Linked DNA regions of Homo sapiens: regions 2 and 3 are each linked to region 1. Evidence: promoter capture Hi-C in 16 types of primary human blood cells and fetal thymus (Javierre and others, 2016). All regions are on one chromosome and are shown on one strand. Each heading gives the region's core, a stretch centred on a gene start or on the middle of the fragment in contact. The rest is flanking DNA. Distances are from core to core; before and after follow the strand shown.

Region 1 (4,706 bases), core at 1,556-4,055:
ATAGGTCTACTAAGCACTGTTACTGTTGTAGGTGTTGGGGGTGGGTGGAGAGAGGTGTGGTATGGTGAGAAAGTGTATAGCAGTTATGTGGCAAGAACCACTCTTCAAATTTGAGGGACACAGAAATGGGGCAAACCTTCCCTATGAGACTGGACTATGGAAAGTAGGAGAAATTGTGGCTGCTGACTTGCTGGCAGTGATTAAGGCAAAGAGGAAAATGTCATGAGACTAAGGACATCAGCCAGAATGACAGCCCCCAAATCTCCTGTCAACCTATAAGGAAGAAGCTGAGGCAAAATGAATACAAGTAGAGAGTTTATTATAAGCTTGAGGATTGCAACGAAAGAGCATAGATTCAAGTTGCCCTAAATAGACACTCTGATTAGCAGCAGTTACAAGTGGATTTTTATAGGGAAAGAAGAGGCAGTTCCTGAGTTATTTACCAACAGTTTACATTAAAATAACATAAGCTATTGATTGGCTATACATTGTTAAACTATAGGGTGTGTGTTAGAATGTCCAGTACAACATTATTAGGTTAATTTATAGCTACTTGTGGCAAGAGCAAGCAGTGTCAAGAGATGAATACATAGCTCAAAGGAGGGAGGCATAGGATGTGATTCTGTCATTTTCTTTTCTTTTTTTTTTTTTTTGAGACTGAGTCTCACTCTGTTGCCCTGGCTGGAGGGCAGTGGCACGATCTTGGCTCACTGCAACCTCTGCCTCCCAGGTTCAAGTGATTCTCCTGCCTCAGCCTCCCAAATAGCTGGGATTACAGGCGCGCACCACCATGCCCAGCTATTGTTTGTAGTTTTAGTAGAGACGGAGTTTCAACATGATGGCCAGGCTATTCTTGAACTCCTGACTTTCTGCCCGCCTTGGCCTCTCAAAGTGCTGGGATTACAGGCGTGAGCCACTGAGCCCGGCTGATTCTGTCATTTTAATGCCTCGCTGGGCCTATTTATTTATTTTTAATTTTTAAAGATTTATTTATTTTTTAATTTTTTTTTTTTTAGAGGCAGGGTCTTGTTCTGTGGCTCAGGCTGGAGTGCAGTGGTGAGATCCTAGCACTACAGGTGCACACCACTACGCCTGGCTTTTTTTTTTTTTTTTTTTTTTTGTTTTTTTTTTGAGATGGAGTTTAGCTTTTGTTGCCCAGGTTGGAGTGCAATGGCACGATCTCGGCTCACGCAACCCGGGTTCAAGTGATTCTCCTGCCTCAGCCTCCCGAGTAGCTGGGATTACAGGCATCTGCCACCATGCCCAGCTAATTTTGTATTTTTAGTAGAAACGGGGTTTCTCCATGTTGGTCAGGCTGGTCTCGAACTCCCGACCTCAGGTGATCCATCTGCCTCGGCCTCCCAAAGTGCTGGGATTACAGGTGTGAGCCACCACGCCCGGCCTATTTTTATTTTTTTATAAAGACTGGGTCTGGCAATATTGCCCAGGCTGGTTGCAAACACCAACACTGCGCCCAGCCATCTGGGCCTGATAATTTAAAAGGACTCTCATTCCTCAGATAAAAGTTCTTTTCGGCCAGGTGAGGTGGCACGTGTCTGTAATCCCAGCACTTTGGGAGGCTGAGACTGGAGGATCACCTGAGCCCAAGAGTTTGAGACCAGCTTGGGCAAGATGTTGAGACCCCCGTCTCTACCAAAAATGAACAAATTAAAAGAGTGTGGTGGCGGGCACTCGCCTATAGTCCCAGCTACTCGGGATGGCTAAGGCGGGAAGATCCCTTGAGAGCCCAGGAATTCGATACTTAAGCTATGATTGCACTAGCCTGCGTGGCAAAATGAGACCTCTTCTCTTACAAAAAAAAAAAAAAAAAAAAAATTGTGTTCTCAACCCCAACGGACCACAATATCCAGTAAAGCTGCTATGGCCCCTAACTCTCAGCACAGGAGGTCCCTTAAGAAAATGCTTGTCCGGCCGGGCGCGGTGGCTCACACCTGTAATCCCAGCACTTTGGGAGGCCGAGGCAGGTGGATCACCTGAGGTCAGGAGTTCAAGACTAGCCTAGTCAACGTGGCGAAACCCCGTCTCTATTAAAAACACAAAATTAGCCGGGTGTGGTGGCGGGTGCCTGTAGTCTCAGCTACTCGAGAGGTTGAGGCAGGAGAATAGCCTGAGCCCAGGAGGTGAAGGCTGCAGTGAGCCGAGATTGCGCCACTGCGCTCCTGCGCTCCAGCCTGGGCGACAGAGTGAAACTCTGTCTCAAAAAAAAAAAAAAAGTTTGCTCCTAACCCCCATCTCAACAATCCAGGACTGAAAAGAAGAGGGACCATGAAAGTCCCTGAAACTACAAGTTGGGCTACGGCTAAAGAAGGTAAATATCAGACTGAAGTGTAAGATGGACATTACTAAGTCTTAATCATCATTTCATGTTTATACCTCACAGGTTGAGATAGATTTCTCAAGCATCATAAATGTAAAGTGCATTAGGGTAGGTCTACAAGAGAGCTCTGAGAACATACAGCAAGGAGACCCAAACCCATCTAGGGCTCAGGGAAGGCTTCCCAAGGAAGCGATGCCCATGCCGAGGCCGAAGGGATCTCATGCCCCACTGCACACACCGCGCGCTCCCCATTCCCAAACAAGGCAGGCTTTTCATGCCTCCCTACCTTTGGACTCTGTTGTTCGTTCCACTTTCCTGGAGTGCTGTCTTCCCTCCCCTTCTGCTCAGTCAGGCTAACTTCACATCCTTTATAATCCAGCTGAAAAGTGAAGCCATGCCCACGGCCTCTCCCCAAAGGAGGAGTGAGTATCACCTGTTCTGAGCTCCGAAGTTCTTGGGGACACCTTGTGGGAACTGCGTGTGTGGTGGCTTGTCTCCACCACCGTACTGTGAGCTCATAGTGTTCTAGAGCCCAGCACGAGGCAAGCTCTATAGATGTCTACTGAATGAAGGAATGAACGAATGATTACATTTTAAATGGGATTAGGGGAAAATGATTCAAGGCAGAGGGGTGAGCTGAGCTCCTTGGAATGGTGTCTTTACCGAACCAAGCCTGGGTTAGGCAGATGTAATGAGCCCACCTATTACAAGAATCTCCATAGAAAGTAGGTCAGTTCTTTCCTATCTCTTTAAGAACGAGAGGCCGCGGCTCCGCGCCTGCGCACTGAGAGAATAAACACCTCTCCTTTTCACCTTCCCCCCTTCTCCCTATTGCCCCAACCGGCGGCAGCCTCCTCCCATACTCCCCTCCTTCGGGGCGGGTAATGGTCCGTCCGTCCCAGGGTGCCAGGCTTGTTTCGGAGGGTGGCAAGCAGAAATGGTACATTCCACTGCCTTCATTACCTTCTGCTTTTCGCGTCTCCTGTTCTATTTCCCCCTACCTAAAGAAGCTTAATAGGCTAGCCCCAAAGAAGGCGGGGGAGCCGGGCGGAGGGGACCGGTCTGAGCCGGTCTGCAGCGCAAGCGCAGTGCGGATAAACAGGAAGCGGGCGGTGGAGGCAGCAGCAGAGGGAGAGCTCGGGGCTTGGAGGGGAAACAGCGGAAGACCTAAGATTATCGGGAGGGCAGCAGAGGCAGAGAACGAGGACAGGACCCTTGGCCGTCTTCTTCCAGGGAACGAGAGGTCACAGCCTCGCTCTCCGCTTAGGCTTCTGGCGCCCCAGCTTAAAGCCGAGGCTGCGGCTGACAAAGGGCTCGCGCCGGTGCCGCCGCCCTTCTCATCCGGGCATTCGGGTCCCTGCGGAGAGGGAGGGGGAAGGGCAGAGGGGGAGGGGAAGGAGCCGGAGGGGCGCACACTTGGAGCTGAAGCCCTCTCCAGGGCTCCGGGCCGGTGCCCCAACGGACAGAGGTCGAGGAGGACCCGCAGAGGTGGCAGCGGCCGGGGGCAGGAGGATGGTGCAGAAGGAGAGTCAAGCGACGTTGGAGGAGCGGGAGAGCGAGCTCAGCTCCAACCCTGCCGCCTCTGCGGGGGCATCGCTGGAGCCGCCGGCAGCTCCGGCACCCGGAGAAGACAACCCCGCCGGGGCTGGGGGAGCGGCGGTGGCCGGGGCTGCAGGAGGGGCTCGGCGGTTCCTCTGCGGTGTGGTGGAAGGTGAGCGCCCTCCTTCCCTCCCCGTTTTGGCACTAACACGTTCTGTCCTCGGGAGGAGGGTGGTGGCGGGGATTTTGGAGACTCTAAAAGGCCGGAAAGCCTCTGGGTCTGAAATGTGGCCCTCCTAAAGCGAGGGGAGAGACGAGATGTTGGGCGAATCTCCTTGCACGTCTTAAGACGGCGTCGAATTCCCCCCTGGCCACTCACAAGTCTGACCCCACCCGTCTTGGGCTTGGAGCCAGGCCACCTCCTAAGGAGGCGGTGGTTAAGAGCCTGGTGTTCTGTTAGCCTCTGAGTTCTACTTCTTTGTACCTTGGGATCTTATTCCCTAGGGTTGTCTGGTTCCAGTGAAAAAATATGTGTAGTGCTTCTGTCACCACCCTTTGTGGAAAATCGGCCCACACTGACGTGCTTGTACTTCTGGAGTGAAGAGAAGCACGTTTGGCCTATAGTATTTCAAGTTCCACTTGGCTTAGAATATTTTTGTTGCTTCCCCCCACCCCCGCAAAGATTCATTTGCAACTTAGAAAATTGCCCTCTTTCCCAGCTACTGTACTTTGCTCTCGAGGGATGAAACTTTGGCTTTAATCACAGATTCTCGAAGTATCTGAGATGCGTAATTGGAATTTAGTGACCGCAGAAGCGGCTTTAAAAATG
Region 2 (4,706 bases), core at 2,207-4,706, 820 kb after region 1:
CCACCCGGAACCCCCTCCCTAGTCCCAGTCCCGAGGCCGCTGATGACCAGGACTTAGGCATCTGCTGAAGTCATCATGCAGAGCGGGGCCAAGAAGTGGACAGAGAATTGCACTGGGAGTAGGAGTGTGTGCATTTAGTTATTTGTTGTGTGACTACATGCACAGGAGCATGAAAATGAACACGTGTGTATGAAAATGTGTGTGAAAACATCATGTGAGTCTATGCATGTTTGATATATCAGTTCATTCACATACATATGAGTTCATGTGTGAATTCACATGTGTATATCTTAGAAGAGTATGTGGATCAGGGGTCATTAGAAAGCCTGTGAAAGTTATAAATGTGGATCTAACAAGTGAATTTGTGGTGTGTGGGAGAGACGGTGCCTGGACAGACTTGTCAGTAAGTTCATGAGTTTATGTGTGAGCTCCTGTGTTTGTGTGTGACTAGGAAGGTGAGTGGTGCAGTGGAGCCTGTGAACGTGGGCACGCAGGTATGAGAGTGGTGGGAGCCTGGGTGGCTTGAGGGCCCATTGGTGGGGGGAGCCTGTTTCCTTCTCTCTTCGGCGTGTGGGGAGAGGTGGGACATTATCTAACTCCTTTGCCTGATCTGTTCCCCTTCTTTCTCGCATGCCCTCCATTAAATCCACCGCCCTCCTTCCCACCCAAGTCAAAAGACACTGCGAACCAGGAAGAGGTGTCCACGCTGGGGCAGGAGCTGCGGGGAGCTGGGGGAGGGGTAGGCCAGGAGCAGGGAGTGACCACAGGCCCCTCTGTAGGGCTGGGGCTCAGACCACCCCACACACCCCAGCCCCCAGCAGAGCAGATAGAGAACCCCCTCCCCTCCCCTCTCTGGGCCCACTCCAGGGTGTGGAGTGAACAGTGGGGAAGGGACTTCTTAGGGGGCCAAGGGGGCTGGCACCTCTGTTGCATTTCCCCACTTCAGCGAGCACGGAGAAAGTGAAAATTGAAGGAAGGAGACAGGCTCAGAGAAAGACAGGGACCCAAAAGAGACAAAGACTCGGAGAGGCCCGAGGGTCAGGCCGACAAGGGGACAGCCAGCGGGACCCAGTGAGCCAGGGCCCCCCAACCCCACGGAGCCGAGGGCCCATAAGTCCAAAGTGCCACAGAGCCGGGCCCTGAGAGCCACACATCCAGGGAGCCAGAGCCAGGAGTCTGGAAAGCCAGGCCCAGCCAGGCCGGCTCCCGCTCTTGGAGCCCGAAAGAGAAGGAGGGGCAAGTGGAGGCTCCATTTTGAGAAATGCGTTTGTGGCTGTGGGAGATGGGAACCCCTCATTCTCCCCAGCACTCCCTGAGCAATCACTCTGGCCCAGGAGCACCCCCCTTTTAGTGGGCTGAGGAGAGCAGAGGGCTGGAGCTGGTTCAGGGCCGGAGACGGATCTGAAGAGTTGGGGAAAGTCTCCCTCCCACCCAAACTCCAAGGACCAGTCAAGCGGGGTCAAGTCTGCGATCACGAGTTCCCATTCTGCGGCGGGAAGCCAGGAGCCCCTGACCCATTCTCCAGAGTCCAGCCCCCCTTCCAGAAAGTGGGGGCGACTGGGGAACGCCGTCCCCCCGGCTGGATTCCACCGCGCATAAGTTGGGGGCTCCCCAGGCCGCCTCCCAGACCCGGCCCCCCTCACCTCCGCCGCGCTGCTCCATGCTCAGCCCCAGGCCGCCCCCAGCGCTCCACAGGCGCGCCGCCCGGCCCCGGCTCCGGCTCCGGCCCCGGCCCCGGCCCCGGCCCTGGCCCGCGCGCCGCCACTCGGAGCTGCCCGGCCCAGCCCCGCCTCCGCCTCCGCGGCGCCCCCGGCCCTGGCCAGCCCCCGCCCGGTGCGAGTGGGCGGCACCGCGCAGGGGAGGGTCCGAGGGGCGTCTCCGCCCCGGGGCGCGGACACGCGCAAGCACCCGCGTCACGCGAATCCGCCGGGGCGCACGTAGGGGCTGCTCGGCGGCAGTCGGGAGCCCTCCCTCCGACGCCCTGTGACTGCGTGTCTGGGGGCTCGGTTCGGCTCGACGCGGCGGCGGCGGTGGTCACCCTCAACCCCAGCCGGGGCCCCGGGGCCAGCGGCAGCTGGTCATTGTTCCAGCACAAAGGGCCACGGCGCGGCGGCGGCCGCCCCTCCCCCTCCGCTTCTCCAGGCGAAGCTTCCCTGACACGCTCTCAGCCTCAGAGTCCCAAGCGAGAGGCCGATGGCCGGCCGTCCCCCACTCTCCGGTGCCGGGACCCCGCGCCCTAGCCCGAGTAGGAGGCCGAGGCTCGATCCGCGCCTGCCCCACGGCGGGTTGGAGGCGGCAACCTGGGCTTCGCGGAGGCGACGCCACCTGGCGGCCGGCTCGGAGAACACACCCAGCCGCCCCCAACACGCGGGCCCTGCCCCACTCCCCGGCACGGTGCCCTTTTCCCCGCGAACCCAGGCCGGCCTCTGGCGCGACCGCGTGCTCCCCAGCCTCCCCTCGGGATCACTTGCTAAGAGAGAGGTCATTTATCGGAGAGGAGCGGCCCCTGGCTCCCCAACAATCACTGGGGCGAACCGGTGCAAGCCTACAGCCCAAACCTACACCAGCCTCACGGCAGACAATATTCCACTTCCTCAGGGTCAAGTAGTCTCACCTTCTCGCACACAATACAGTCTCCCTAACACCCACAAGACCTTTCCCACATGCAGCCGCAGTCTCAGCCGTCACGTGGGTCCGCGTTCCTTCTTTCCATAATCTTCCAGTCCACCTCACACACAGACACGGTGTCACAGGCCTGTTGGGCACAGGCTTCCACAACAATCCGCAGTCCTTCGCACCCAGTCACAGTCTCAAGTGCACTTAGTCTCCTAACCATCTTTCACGCATTGACAGCCTCTATTCACAGTCACTCACACAGACAACTTCTTACACGCCGTGCTTCACAAATATTCTACCGCACAGCCTTTCCCCTAGGGGTCTCGGTGACCCGGTCAGGTCAGCTGATGCCTGCATCCCTGGGCAAAGGCAGCCTTTCTCCCCTAACCACCCCCTCCCCCGCAGGGCCAAGGCCTGCCGGAGCTCGCCCGGGCCCCAGGAAGGAGCATCCCCCCCTTCCAGGCCACAGCCCTGGCCGGCTCTCAGCTCTATTTTTAGCTCCATGGACAGGGTTGTTTTTCTTTCTTTTTCCCTGGAAAGGGAAACACAGCCCAGCCACCCTGACTCACCCCAGACCCTCAGCCTCACAAGAACAGACTGAGCCCCTCTCCCCAGCAGAGCCCCCTCCTCTGGCCTTGCCCTGATCCCTGCCTCCTGGGGCACCGAGAGCCTCCTCCTCTTTCTGGCAGCCTGCCCAGCTCAGGCGGCAGCTGGGCTCAGCGTGTGTGTAGGGGTAGGGGGTGGGGCGAGGAGGAGGCATCGGGCTACTGCCCACTCCCTCATTCCCTGGGGGGAGGGGCTCGTCCTCCTTTTTCTAGGGGGGCAGGCCCACTCTGGTATTGAGGGAGCGTTTACACTCATGCATTTTCTGGGGGGAGGAGACTCCGACTCCCGCAAGGAGTGGAGGTGAGGGTAGGAAGGGGACCCGCAGGCGCTCAGGCAGCTGCTCTCTGGGCTGGCGGTAACAGGCGGGGGCAGCTGTCCACTGCCATCAAGGGCCTGTCTCCGAAACCTTCAGGGATGCAGACACCAAGAATGTGCTGGGGAGAAGGACGTCCAGGAGCCCGAGTTAACCCCAGCCCTGCCCAGCAGCCGGGCCCTCCTGCTCCGCCCCGGCTCCAGGGGGCGCTGTGCTCCGGTTCCCGGGAGAGGGCTTATCCCCGCTCCAGGCGGAGAATGGAACGCCGTCCGGCCTGGGACCAAGCAAACGCGCCCCGGACTAGGGTGGATTTCCGCCCCGTGGTTGGGTTGGGGGCACAGGCCACTGGTCTGCGGAGCTGTCACGTGCTCGGCGTCTGTTTACGTCTTGGTCTTCACCTGCGGGAGGCCAGGAAGCAGGAACCTCCGGGTGCGTCCCACCCGGCCCGCCCCCGTCGGTAGTCACAGGGCTGCCCCTTTCCCGCACCCAATACGCGACCGCAGAGTGCCCTGCCCGCTGTGGGTCCGCGCGGGCCGGCTGGCGCTGTCCCTGGGAGTGCAAGGGTGGCCAACTGGGCGCGTCCTTTCCGAGTGCATGTGTGTTCGCGTGTCCCAAGTGCGGGCGTGGGTCTGTGCACGCGTGTGTGGGGCCCGTCGGCGTGCGTTTTCGTGTCACTTCCCTGTTCGGACTCTTCGCGGGGACCCCACCAAGTGCGGACCCCCCTCCTCACCCCAACCCCTAGCTTCCCTAGAAGCGGAAAGTTCGTTCAGGAGCGGGGATGAGCGGGAGGCGGGAGTTCCTGCACCTCCGCCGCCCCACCACTCACCCAGCGCCACCTGCGCCTCGGCTCCAGTTCCGGCCCCGCTCCTGCTCCAGCGCGCCCACCTCCTCGCCGCGACAACGCCGGCTCCCTAGCCGGCTCCGAACTCTAGGTTCCGAACTCTGGGCTCCCGGCTCCCAGCTCCCGGCGCCCGCCTGGCCCGACCTGGTGGAGCGGGGCGGGGCGGGGCGGCTCAGGCCGCGCCCCCCACCCAGGGAGGGGAGTGGTCTGCCCCGCACTCCACCAGCAGCCGACCCAGTGCCCAGCCTAAGAGTGACTCGACGGTGGCCGAGGCTGCCCCTCTGGCCTCTGACTTCACAGCTTACTGGATTTGGTTTTTGACCTGGGGAA
Region 3 (4,706 bases), core at 568-3,067, 680 kb before region 1:
TTTAAATTGTTTTCCTTTGTTGTAGGAATATGTCCTCTCGCGTACGTGTGTTAACATTTCCTTTTTGTTAGAGTGTGAGGTGCTAGGAGATGTTTATTAAAGTCTTACAGACCCAAATAAAAACATGAGAACCTTATATTGTCTAAGGGAACGTCGGGGGGAGTGGCAGGGCTGATCTGCAAAATCCAAACATCCATGAATTACGACCAATCCAAACCGAACTACAGACAAGTACTCGAGAAGACTACATACCTCAGCATGCACTGCGAACTCCTTCAAAGGGACTACAGATCCAGGCATGCAACATGACCATCAACCTGTGTCTCTGGCTGTTTAATCTAGGGAGACCACAAATCCCAGGGTACTGCGCATTGGAAATGCGACTCCCAATCTTAAACTAGGCGGGCAACAAAGCAAGCTAGATCGCTAACCCAGGCGCAAAGCTTGCTGGGGATTGTAGTTCTTCAGAGGCGAGGTCGGGCCGCTCCCTCGCCGCCCTGAACCGGCGGCTAGACTGCGCATGCGTGTCAGTGGCGCTAGCGGCGGACCCGGCTGGGCAGTTCCTTCCCCAGAAGGAGAGATTCCTCTGCCATGGAGTCCTACGATGTGATCGCCAACCAGCCTGTCGTGATCGACAACGTGAGTTGCGTCTTTCCTATCTATAAGGGGACTTGGGCTCTCCTCCTCGAAAGGATCGCTTCCCGGGGTTCAGCCTGAGCCGCCGGCTCTTTGTCACTGGCCCGGCCTGTCAGGCGCGTTCAGCCACCGCCGCCTCCTTCCTCCCCTTATCACATAGTCCGCAGGCAAGGCGGCCAGCCAGCAAAAGTGGGATGGAGAACTCTGGAGTGGATAAAGGAAAGAGTTATAGTCCAAGCCAGTCCTTGGGCCCTTGGCTCTAGGGGCCTTAACCGCTGTGTGAGATTCCCGTCGCCCGCCCTCTCCCCCATTTCCGATCGCTCTATTGGTTGCTCTGGCTGTCCATCTTAGCCAATGATACCGCCTCTTAGCCTTGCCGGATGAGGCTAGGCCTCTGCGGTGATTGGCTCACGCCCCTGCCATTCTTCCTTGCCGCCATATTGTTTTCCCTCTTGAAGGGGCGGGGCAGTGCTCCAGGGCTGTGGGGATTGGCTTCCGGGACTCTGGGTGGTGGGGCCTAGAGGCGAGTGCCCGCCCGCGGGTGGAGAACGGCTAAGTTTTCCTTCGGTCTCAGCCGGCGCTGCGGCTTGGTGGTGTGGATCTGGGTGGGGCCCGAGAATCTGGTGCCAGAAACCGCTGTAGGATGTCAGCTATTACTGTGATTATAAATTACAAAGTTGGTAAAGGTCGAGAAGAAAGGAGAGTGACAAAGGAAGCAGAGAGGTTGTCCTCCTCTTTGGAACGCCTAGTTCTTACGGGGAAAAAATTACCAAACTTAATATTTGCCTGGCGCTCTAGCGCTTCCAGGGCGTTTTCACATACATTCGAGTTGGATCCTCACAAAAACTGGACGCATAGTTTAAAAGGAACTTTGATCTTCGTGTTACCGATGAGAAAACTGAAGCGCGAAGACGTAACGTGAGCCCAAGGTCACATAGCAGAGGTGCCCTAAATCCAGTACTTTATCCGTCATCCCTTTTGCCAGCACCACCATGCAGAAGCATCAATATTGACCAATAGAAAGAATCTAAATACTGCTCTTATTTTGGGGGGAAAGGAGAAAATTGTAAAACGACTGCATTTCTGCCTTCGATTCAAAGCTTTGGTCCCACAGAGATTGATCCCTGTCTGTGTCCCTTGTAGGTCCCTCCATTGAGGCAAAACTACCAGTTCCCTCTGTTGTAAGCTGACTCTGTCAGATTCCCTTTGTTGATTCAGCTCTTGGGACCTTAGGCATATTACAATGTTCTCGTTTAAGCTTCAGCTCTGTTAGGTAGATAGGAATTACTATCCCCAGTGTATGCAGGGATGTTAAATAACAGATTTCAAACCATCCAGTTTAGGAATTGAGGAGCCAGTCATCAGACTAAGATCCAGTTCCAAGTTGCTTGCTTTTTCCAATATATTTTTGTTGTTGTTTTCATTAAATTTTCCTTCTCTCCATGGGTATTTTGTTTTTATTATTCCCCCTTAGAAAGGGGCAGGATTGAGCTCAATGAGACAGCTCATTTTTTTTTTCTTTTTTTTTTTTGGAGACAGGGTCTCGCTCTGTTGCTGAGTCTGAAATGCAGTGGCGCGATCACAGCTCACTGCAGCCTCAACCTCCTGGGCTCAAGTGATCCTCCCGCTTAAGCCTCCCGAGTAGCTGGGGCTGCAGGCACGCGCCACCACCCCTGGCTAATTTTTGTATTTTTTGTAGGAAGGGTTTCACCATGTTGTCCAGGCTGGTCTCAAACTCCTGGGCTGTTGCGATTCTCCTACCTTGGCCTCCCAAAGTGCTGGGATTATAGGCCTGAGCCACCGTGCCTGGCAGAGACGCCTCTTTTTTTGGTGTGGGGGGGTGGAGGGAACAGGATCTCGCTTTGTCACCCAGGCTGGAGTGCAATTGTGCGATCTCAGCTCACTGCAGCCTCCGCCTCCAGGTTCAAGAGATTCTCCAGCCTAGACTCCCAAGTAGCTGGGATTACAGATGTGCACCACCACGCCTGGCTAATTTTTGTTTGTTTGTTTGTTTGTTTGTTTGTTTGTTTGTTTTTGAGACGGAGTCTCACTGTCGCCCAGGCTGGAGTGCAGTGGCGCGATCTCGGCTCACTGCAAGCTCCGCCTCCCGGGTTCACGCCATTCTCCTGCCTCAGCCTCCCGAGTAGCTGGGACTACAGGCGCCCGTCACCTCGCCCGGCTAATTTTTTGTATTTTTAGTAGAGATGGGGTTTCACCGTGTTAGCCAGGATGGTCTCGATCTCCTGACCTCGTGATCCGCCCACCTCGGCCTCCCAAAGTGCTGGTATTACAGGCGTCAGCCACCGCGCCCGGCCTAATTTTTGTATTTTTAGTAGAGATGGGGTTTCACCATATTGGCCAGACTTGTCCTGAACTCCTGACCTCAAATGATCCACCCGCCTTGGCCTCCCAAAGTGCTGGGATTACAAGCATGAGCCACCACACCCAGCCCAGATACTTCATTTTTGAGAGGATCTTTTTGTCTCCCTCACTAGACTATTAAATCCTTGTGGAAAAAGATGATATTCTCCCACAGGTTTAGTGGTGTTGGGAAAAAAAATTTAAGAAAGATGATATTCCTTTAGTCTCACTTCACCCACTTCTCTCCACACACACACAGTATACCTAGGGTCTGGCACCTCTGTGTGCTCAATAAATGTTTTTTCATTGGATTGATGGGTGATTGGATGAATGACTGAATATCTCTATCAAAGTAACAAAGATATTCCTAAATAAAGAAAAGATGGGGAGTTTTCTCTAGTTAGTTACTGCAGATAATTGAGTAGGACTTTTTGTTCTTGATGTTGATTTTCAGAGAGCACTACGATTTCTGTCTTTAGCCAGGCTCTTTGTGCTTCTTCTGCCTTTTTCTTAGTTGTAAAAAGGAAAAATATATAGAAATTCAATTTCCTGTTTTCATCAGCAATGCAGAAGGAACAACCTGTCTATCCCACCAGCTCCTTTGCTTCTTGAATTGCTAGGCAGGAGTTCCATCTCCGGCCATTTTCTTTAATATCACTTACACTAATGCGTCTTAATTTTTTTCTTTCTCTTTCCTGGTAGTATGTTTCGAAATGCATTACAGCAGTGATGCATTTTTAGTTTCAAGATTTAAAGAATTGACTTGTCTTTTTTTTCCCCCTCTGGGAAAACATGTCCTTTATTATGCCAGTATTTCTGCCAAAAGGTGAAGTAGGAGAAACTTAAGTCATTTTCCTATTAGTATTTGCTGAAAATCTGCCACATTTTTACATGTGCGGTCTCAGGTAGTCCTTGTTGTTTAACATTTGGGGGGTCATTTTGTTTTTATTATTTTCAAGATGGTAGATGTATAGGAAACATTATTTGAAATACCTGAGACAACTTATTACATATAATGAGAATAATGTATCACTAGCTATGTTAACTCCATAGCTTAACATGTTGCTACACTTTATTTATGGGCAGAAGAGTATAATCAAAAGAATGCAGGAGAAAGAAAGCAGGGAAAGAGCCCCATTAAGTTCACAGCCTTTCCCAATCATAAGACAATTGTGACCACGTCTTTCATCTTACTCTGGCATCAAGTCATTTCATCAGAATTTAATGAGGAAAATGGAGGGGCAGGTAGGTGTGTGCTTTAATGACAACAATAAAGTGATAGGTATTTTTTTAATCACCCAAGAAGCTTTATGATGATAGATATTTTTTAAAACCAAATATAAGTCATTTCTTCCCAAAGACATAGAGAATAGTGTAAGATAGGAGCAGCTCCTAGGCCACATTTTGAGGACTACACTTTGATCAGAATACTATGTTTATTCTGAAACTCAAATTTTTCCTAAGATCCAGGCCAAATGTGGTGGCTTACTCCTGTAATTCCAGCATTTTGGAAAGCCAAGGCTGGAAGATCGTTTGAGCCCAGGAATTGGAGACCAGCCTGGGCAACATAGTGAGACTTCATCTCTACTTTAAAAAAAAAAAAAAATTAGCCAGGCTTGCTTGGTGGCATGCACCTGTAGGAGGCTGAGATGGGAGAATCACTTGAGCCCAGGAGTTTGAGGCTGCAGTGAGATCGTGCACCTCACTCC

Evidence for each region. Contacts are between HindIII fragments. The CHiCAGO score rates a contact against its expected background, and 5 or more counts as called.
Region 2: a contact is called between a fragment that was not itself captured here and the fragment with the promoter of KCNIP2-AS1 in region 1, in 4 of 17 cell types (erythroblasts, naive CD4 T cells, megakaryocytes and 1 more). The highest score is 7.0, in erythroblasts.
Region 3: a contact is called between a fragment that was not itself captured here and the fragment with the promoter of KCNIP2-AS1 in region 1, in 5 of 17 cell types (fetal thymus, naive CD4 T cells, total B cells and 2 more). The highest score is 7.1, in fetal thymus.

What each region holds. Positions count from the first base shown.
Region 1 is chr10:101,817,167-101,821,872 of GRCh38, reverse strand. It overlaps KCNIP2-AS1 (KCNIP2 antisense RNA 1), which reads right to left and starts at 2,805. Exons shown (of 3, transcript NR_045118.1): 1 at 2,625-2,805. It overlaps OGA (O-GlcNAcase), which reads left to right and starts at 3,429. Exons shown (of 16, transcript NM_012215.5): 1 at 3,429-4,049. The coding sequence starts at 3,851. RefSeq lists enhancers at 3,400-3,519, 3,321-3,896 and silencers at 3,670-3,729, 3,810-3,869. The HindIII fragment of the contact is 3,022 bases long and covers 329-3,350 here.
Region 2 is chr10:100,996,890-101,001,595 of GRCh38, reverse strand. It overlaps LZTS2 (leucine zipper tumor suppressor 2), which reads right to left and starts at 1,788. Exons shown (of 5, transcript NM_001318100.2): 1 at 1,644-1,788. RefSeq lists silencers at 1,647-2,026, 2,127-2,536, 4,327-4,616 and an enhancer at 4,700-4,706. The HindIII fragment of the contact is 2,612 bases long and covers 2,151-4,706 here.
Region 3 is chr10:102,498,533-102,503,238 of GRCh38, reverse strand. It overlaps ACTR1A (actin related protein 1A), which reads left to right and starts at 527. Exons shown (of 11, transcript NM_005736.4): 1 at 527-639. The coding sequence starts at 592. It also overlaps a transcript of SUFU not described here. RefSeq lists a silencer at 129-198 and enhancers at 549-648, 2,043-2,543. The HindIII fragment of the contact is 158 bases long and covers 1,739-1,896 here.